Linked DNA regions of Homo sapiens: region 2 is linked to region 1. Evidence: promoter capture Hi-C in 16 types of primary human blood cells and fetal thymus (Javierre and others, 2016). All regions are on one chromosome and are shown on one strand. Each heading gives the region's core, a stretch centred on a gene start or on the middle of the fragment in contact. The rest is flanking DNA. Distances are from core to core; before and after follow the strand shown. Region 1 holds the start of BPNT1 (3'(2'), 5'-bisphosphate nucleotidase 1). Region 2 holds the start of C1orf115 (chromosome 1 open reading frame 115).

Region 1 (3,913 bases), core at 631-3,130:
GCAGTGAGAAATCAGGCCACTGCACACCAGCCTGGGCGACAGAGCGAGACTCCATCTCCAAAAAATAAAATAAAATGCACTTCATCTTTGACCCACGGTTTCACATCTGGGATCTATCACAGCTATAGTCTTCCAGGAGCACAAAGATATATTTACATAGAAACTCTCCTAACCAACCTCTACATAACTTGCTGAATTCAACTATGCCGTTTTCTCGTAAAACCTATGAGAGGATACAATGAACACTTGGGAGATGGCTACTCTTTAGGATGACTGCAGATTTCTATTCTCACTTGTTGAGCTTACCTTGCATTATGTTTGTCTTTATTTAAGCCATTTGTACTTGTCATGTAATTATACAATTTAATTATAAAAACCAAAGTATGGCCAGGTGCAGTGGCTCATGCCTGTAATCTCAGCACTTTGGGAGGCCGAGGCGGGCGGATCATGAGGTCAGGAGTTCGAGACCAGCCTGGCCAACATGGTGAAACCCCGTCTTTACTAAAAAAAAAAAAAATGCAAAAACTAGCTGGGCTGGGTGGTGTGCGCCTGTAGTCCCAGTTACTCAGGAGGCTGAAGCAGGAGAATAGCTTGAACCCTGGGAGGCAGAGGTTGCAGTGAGCCGAGATCAAGCCATTGCACTCCAGCCTGGGCGACAGAGTAAGACGCCGTCTCAAAAAATATATATATGTATATATGTGTGTGTGTGTGTGTGTGTATATATATATATATATATATATATATATATATATATATGGTTAAAGTAATATAATTTAAGTTATGTATATTTTTCCACTTCCCAAAAAGGGTCTACTTAACTCACAGAGTTATTGTGAAAATCAAATGAAGACGTAAAAGCCTTTTTAAGCTGGGCGCAGTGGCTCACACCTGTAATCCCAGCACTTTGGGAGGCCGAGGTGAGCAGATCACCTGGGGTCAGGAGTTCAAGACCAGCCTGGCCAATATGATGAAACCCCGTCTCTACTTAAAAAACAAACAAAATTAGCCCGGCGTGGTGGCGCGCCTGTAGTCCTAGCTACTTGGGAGGCTAAGGAGGAAGGATCGCTTGAACCCAGGAGGAGGAGGTTGTAGTGAACCTAGACTGCGCCACTGCACTCCAGCCTGGGCGACAGGATGAGACACTGCCCCCTTCCCCAACCACGCCCCCCAGTAAAAGATCCCATCTGTACACAAAAAATATTTTAATTAGCTGGGTGTGGTGGCGCGCACCTCCACCAGTAGTCCCAGCTACACGGAAGGCTGAGGCGGGAGGATGGCTTGAGCCTAGAAGTGGGAAGGCAGCAGTGAGCCGTAATCGACTCTGGGCGACAGAGCAAGCTATCTATCGCTTAAAAAAAAAAAAAAAAAAAAAAAAAAAAAGGTAAGCAAGCATCTTTGACACAATTCTGCATAAAGTTGCTGTGTTATTGCGTGGGGAGTGGGAGGTGGAGGTGTGTGTGGTGGACCTGCTGAAGCCTGTCCACGGACCGCTAGGGGTTCGAAGTTAAATAGCCGCAGAGTGGTATCACTAATACAAAGAACATTTTAAAACAGTGAACTCTACGAAGTGGGCTGGAAGACAGCTGAAACCAAAACCAATCTTTTTTTTGTTTCAACACACTGTTGCTGGCTTAATGTGTTCTTTCCTTCTTCTTTTTCTTTTTTTAGCCAATCTTTGAAAGTTGACACATCTTTCGCTTTTATTTAATGCAACAGGTGACTTGCACCTACGGAGAGCTTGGAGAAAACACGGACAAGTGGAATTTTCCCGCGGATCAGGAGTCTAAAGAGGCAGTGTGAAATCGCTGTTGTGCGCTTGCGCGCAGTTTCCCGCATGCTCAGTAGCTGAGGTAGGGATGCCATCCTTCTCAAAAGACTTATTGACAGTGCCAAAGCTCGGTACTGGACACAACGAGGGACCTGGGTCTACGATAACGCGCTTTTGCTCCTCCTGAAGTGTCTTTGGTCCAACGTTGTTCCAGGTTTGTCACCGTTTCTCTCCGGCCGGTCAGGGCAAGAGCCAGGTAGATAGGATTTATGTTAAAAAAATAAAACGAAAAAGGTTTATGTGAATCAGATTGCTTCTCCAGATATTCTAACTTCCGACTTGGACTCTTGAGTGTCGATATTTTAATTGTTTATCTGTGCTTTTATTTTCGTGATCCGGAAGGTTTTTATAGCCATATACTGTAGAAACAAGACAAACCTAGACATTGAGTTTGTTGATGCACCCAAATTTAGAAACTGCTTGGTACCTAAAATTAAATTTCTTTAAACAGCAAATATTCTTCCAACTGCCATTTCTACATATTTATAGGTTTGCGTGATTTATTTGGATTTCTCTGTAAATATAATTGTTGGTTCAAAAGATACGTACTTTATACTTTTATTAAGGTTCTCAAAACTCTCCTAAGAGGGTTCACCGCTTTGCCAACAATGCTCAGGAACATGTTCCCTCACACCCTTGCAAACTGGACAAAGGACAAACTCTTCTTCTTTCTTCTTTTTTCTTCTTCTTCTTCCTCCTCCTTCCTCCTCCTTCTTTTTTTTTTTTTTTTTTTTTTTTCGAGACGGAGTCTCGCTCTGTCGCCCAGGCTTGAGTGCAGTGGTGCAATCTCGGCTCACTGCAAGCTCCACCTCCCAGGTTCACGCCATTCTCCTGCCTCAGCCTCCCGAGTAGCTGGGACTACAGGCGCCCACCACCAAGCCTGGCTAATTTTTTTTGTATTTTTAGTAGAGACGGGGTTTCACCGTGTTAGTCAGGATGGTTTCGATCTCCTGACCTCGTGATCTGCCCGTCTCGGCCTCCCAAAGTGCTGGGATTACAGGCGTGAGCCACCGCGCCCAGCCTTTCTTTCTTTCTTTTTTTTTTTTTTTTAAGACAGGTTCTAGCTCTGTCCCCCAGGCTGGAGTACAGTGGTGCCATTATGTCTCACTGCAACCTTGACCTCCCAGGGTCTGGTGATTCTCCCACCTCAGCCTCCCGAGCAGCTGGGACTACAGGCATGTGCCACCACACCATCTAATTTTTGCATTTTTTTGTAGAGACGAGGTTTTGCCATGTTGCCCAGGCTGGTCTCGAACTCCTGAGCTCAAGCAATACACCAGCCTTGGCCTCCCAAAAAGTTCTAGGATTACGGGTGTGAGCCACTGCATTCAGCGACAATTTTTTTTTTTTTTTTTTTTTTTGAGTCGGAGTCTCTGTCGCCCAGGCTGGACTGCAGTGGCGCGATCTCGGCTCACCACAACCTCTGCCTCCTATGTTCAAGCAATTTTCCTGCCTCAGCCTCCTGAGTAATTTTTGTATTACTATGCCTGGTTAATTTTTGTATTTTTAGTAGAGATGGGGTTTCACCATGTTGGCCAGGCTAGTCTTGAACTCCTAACTTCAGGTGATTCACCTGCCTTGGCCTCCCAAAGTGCTGGGATTACAGGTGTGAGCCACCGTGCCCTGCCAAATTTTCTTTTCTATGCCAATCTTAAAAATAAACAATCATGGCCCGGCGCGGTGGCTCACGCCTGTAATCCTAGCACTTTGGGAGGCTTAGGCAGGCCATGAGGTCGGAAGTTCGAGACCAGCCTGACCAACATGGAGAAACCCTGTCTCTACTAAAAATACAAAATTAGCCAGGTGTGGAGATGCTTGCCTGTAATCCCAGCTACTCGGGAGGCTGAGGCAGGAGAATCGCTTAAACCCGGGAGGCAGAGGTTGCGGTGAGCCAAGATCTCGCCATTGCACTCCAGCCTGGGCAACAAGAGCAAAAACTCTGTCTCAAAAAATAAATAAATTAATTAATTAATTAAAAATAAAATAATCATTTCTCATTGTTTTAGTTTGCATTTCTTTCATAATTAGTGAAGCTGAGTATTTATGTATTTAATGGCCAGTGCTTTTCTCTTTGTAGGTGTTGCC
Region 2 (4,109 bases), core at 533-3,032, 600 kb before region 1:
TTGTTATTCGGTTTGTTTGGACATTTTTTGGAGTAGCCGTTCTAGTGGGGATGAAGTGTGCCTACTTCATACCACTTCACTGTTATCTGGTGAAATCTTAACTCATCCTTCTGTGCCCAGTTTTCATGTCACCGTGATTTGAAAACTTCCCTGAGTTTACAAGCTCACCGCTGAGGAGTGAACTGCCTGAGCTCTGTGCCCTGAAGCCCCCCCGGGGGCGGGGGGAGCCAGCTATGTCAGTGTCTCCCTGGGAGGCTGTGCCCTTCTCTAGGGCAGGGCTGCACTGTATTCATTTTCGCATCTCTACTGCTCAGCACAATGCCTGACGCATAATGAGTGCCCCCAAAATATCTTCAAGTCCTAGTCCTTGAGCTGAGGTTTCTGCAGTATCAGTTCACCAATGGAGAGGGACATGATGGCTTCTTTGTGCTCAACTGGGACCCAAAGCAGAGATGAATCGTCCTAGCAGGGCTCTAAGCCTGAAAGACCCAACTTTATAGTTTTACCCCTGCCTGTATTCTGCTCCAGAAGCTGCTGACATACCTTTAAAGAGGATGATAAACCTAAGCTCCCAGGCATGGAGACTGAATGGCTTCAGGTGTAAGACGGCATTGGGCAACACAGATAAATAGACAATAAATCAGATGGGGCCCGTGGCCTTTGGCCAGGACACAGTAACTTCTGTGACTTTATTCTGGGTGGCCTTGTCCAGGCCAGCAGAGCTTCCGGCAGCAGCTTCGACTGTTTCCATGCAGAGACACCTGGGAACTGCATCTGCGCTTTGATTTCCGCGAAGGAAACTGTCATTTTCTCCCATATTCATTCTTCCTAACCCCATCTCCCCGAGACAAACGGCAGAATGTTTTGAAGGCCCCAGAGTACACTGATAGTTGGCTAGACGAGAAAAATTCAACGAGCGCCTATTTATGTATTTGTTGCGCTCCCAGGCTCGGGAAATAACCTTGGGAATATTTGGGAGAGTAACCCAAACATTTCTCAACTAGTGGGATATCCTGGAGGGGATGTTACTGGAAAACAAATACACTGGGTTGCAATTTCTTTCTTTCCAACTGGGCCACCTTCTCCAAGTCACCTGCCGCGCTAACGCTTCAGTATTCCCATCTGTAATCAGGAAACTGATTCCTGATCTTACATAAAAACCACCGCGGTAGGAGCCCCTTGAGAATGTTCTTAAGAAGCCAGGAGCGCAATAGCAGGCACAGCAGGGACCACCCAGCGCAACCCCCGATTTAAGTTTCTATCACGACTCGCAACTCGCGGCTTCCCTCCGGCGAGGGAATGGGAGCGGGGGCGGAGGGGTCGCAGGTGCAGCCCGGAGAAACTGGGTGAGTCGATGGTAAGGACCCGGCTCCCGCTCCCCCGCGGGACACCACACCCGCGCCCCCCGGGCAGTGGTGGCGCAGGGCCCCTACCTTGCCGTACTTCTTCAGCTTCCTCCGGTACCTCTTCCTGGGCTGCTCGCTCGGCGCCGGCTCCTCCAGTGGCTCGTAGCGCTCGGGCAGGAGGGCGAAGTGCACCCTCCGCGCGCCCCGGGTCCCCGGGCCCCGCTCGTCCGCCGCGCTCGTCCCGCTCTCGGCCGCCGCCTCCGCCTCGTCCGCGTACTCCAGGTGCTCCAGGATGGCGGCCGCCTCCTCGTCCCCCTCGGTTCGCCCTCGCCCTCGGGGCCCGCGGCGCAGGAGGCTGCTCTCCGCCTTGCTTCGGAGCCTGGCTCCCACCGTCATGATGTCCCGGCCCCTCTGGCGAAGGTCCGAGCGCAAAGACACCAACCTTTGGTCCCCGCCCGCTCCTCCGCCCCAGCCCGGACGGGGCGGGGGATTGGGGGGGCCGCAGCGCCCCCTGGCCGTGGGGCCCGGGATAGCGTTGGCTCCGCTCCGAACTGGCCTACCAGGCGGCGGGCGCGCTCCGCCAGCCCCGCCCTTCATCCCACCTGCCGGCCAAACTGTGCAGACTACGGCGCGCACTGCACAATGAACATGCAAAACACCTTCAACTGCACTTGCTACGAAATTAATGACCCCAAATAATAGGACTCCATCTGCTCATGTTCAAATTAGCAACGATGGAAAATGATACTAGAGATCACGCTCAGTGCTAGGGAGGGCATGGCGAGATAGTCACGGTAACAGGATTCGTGGGAGTGCAAATTGGTGGCAAGGTTTTGGAGAGACGATCAGAAAATCTTTATCGTGAGTCTTAGGAAACGTCCGTATTCTAGGAAATATTCGGAAACGCAAGACAGTGTGTCCACGGTGTTCAACGGTCTGACTCAGTGAAAAAGTGGAGCAAACCAACAGGGAGGCGCAAAGGAAATTCTGGTGCAGACATGCCAGCATATGGCGCAGTCTTTAAAATCATGATTTTCAGGAATATCTCTCTGTGAGATAAGCATTATCAGTGTACTGTGAATCTCAACAAGCTGAGAGTGCCCTATTTTCTTAAGTGGGTAAATGCCTTTGAATTCTGGCTAATGTAGAATTAAGGGCCGAAAGCAGTGGCTCACGCCTGTAATCCCAGCACTTTGAGAGGCCGGGAGGATAGCTTCAGCCCAGGAGTTGGGGAACAGCCTGGGCAACATAGTGAGACCTCCATCTCTAGAAAAAAAAAAAAAAATTAGCCAGGCGTAGGGGCGCACACCTGTGATCCCAGCTATTCAGGAGGATCGCTTGGGCCTGGGAGTTTGAGACTAGCCTGGGCAACACAGGGAGACCTCATCTCTAGAAATAGAAAAACAAATACAAAAGTTTACCTGTAGTCCCAGTGAGGTAGGGAGATCGCTTGATCCTGGAAGGTGGAGATTGCAGTGAGCTATGATTGTGCCACTGCGCTCCAAAGGGGTCGACAGAGTGAGATCCCATCTCAAAAAAATACTTAGGTATAAAATAACATAGATTGTTAGATACACTGATATTTTAACATTAAAGTTTGTGATTAAATTTAAGAATAACGTGTATATGTTGGTATAAGCACATACAATGTTTACGACAATTTAGTTCACTAGGATGCAAAAGAAATTAGTTTTGTGATTCCAACTTAAAATGTGAGCCAGCATGGTGACTTTCACCTGTAATCCCAGCAACTCCACAGGCTGTGGTGGGAGGATCCCTTGAGGCTAGGAGTTCTGAGCAACGTAGGCCCCATTTCTAAAAAAGTGAAAATGTGTGGCTCGGTGCGGTGACTCACACCTGTAATCCCAACACTTTGGGAGACCAAGGCGGTGGATCACCTGAGGTCAGGAGTTCGAGACCAGCCTGGCCAATATAGTGAAACCCTGTCTCTACTAAAAATACAAAAATTAGCCAGGCATGGTGGCGTGCTCCTGTAGTCTCAGCTATTCGGCAGGCTGAGGAGGAGAATCGCTTAAACCCAAGAGGCAGAGGTTGCAGTGAGCGGAGATCGTGCCACGGCACTCCAGCCTGGGCAACAGAGTGAGACTCTGTCTCAAAAAAAAAAAAAAAAGTAATCAGCTAATTGATTTACGCTTTTATTTAACTTATGTAATAAGGTAATAAGTAATGACTTATATTTAATCTTAAAAACATAGAGTCTTTATATGTAAAATAGTATATAAAATTTATGTACAATTCAATTTCAGGTGAAATGGGTATGAAAATGAATTTAACTTACTATATTTATAAGAATTACTTAGAGTTTTGTTATAGAATTGAAGTACTTGAAAAGAAAGTCAAATATTAAATTTGTAAAAGTTGCTTGAAATGTTTAGGAGAATTAACTAAACAGTAAAAGTGCCTCCTTACAGTAATTGTAAAATTTTATCGGGTGAGTAAATAGTTTAAAACAGTATGTAATTTGAATTTAAAAGGTTAAGAGAAAGTAGATTTGTAGATTTGTAATTTTGCTAAAGCAACTATTACTTTATAAACAAACAGAGACCCTTGTAGTCCCTTTTTTTTTTGTACAAAACCGACCTCAAAGAACCCTAGGCTGCTTATCAAATGGTGATATAGTTTGGTTCTATGTCCCCACCAAATTTCATGTTGAATTGTAATCCCCACTGTTGGAGGTGGGGCCTGGTGGGAGGTGATTGGATCATGAGGGTGGCCCTTCATGAATGACTTAGCACCATCCCC

The links. The method cuts DNA at HindIII sites, captures the fragments that hold promoters and counts their contacts. A CHiCAGO score of 5 or more calls a contact.
Region 2: a contact is called between the fragment with the promoter of C1orf115 here and the fragment with the promoter of BPNT1 in region 1, in 2 of 17 cell types (total CD4 T cells and erythroblasts). The highest score is 8.8, in total CD4 T cells.

The regions. Positions count from the first base shown.
Region 1 is chr1:220,087,755-220,091,667 of GRCh38, reverse strand. It overlaps BPNT1 (3'(2'), 5'-bisphosphate nucleotidase 1), which reads left to right and starts at 1,880. Exons shown (of 9, transcript NM_006085.6): 1 at 1,880-1,982. RefSeq lists an enhancer at 1,580-1,769. The HindIII fragment of the contact is 18,631 bases long and covers 1-3,913 here.
Region 2 is chr1:220,688,036-220,692,144 of GRCh38, reverse strand. It overlaps C1orf115 (chromosome 1 open reading frame 115), which reads right to left and starts at 1,782. Exons shown (of 2, transcript NM_024709.5): 1 at 1,434-1,782. The coding sequence starts at 1,742. RefSeq lists a silencer at 1,712-1,951. The HindIII fragment of the contact is 6,585 bases long and covers 1-4,109 here.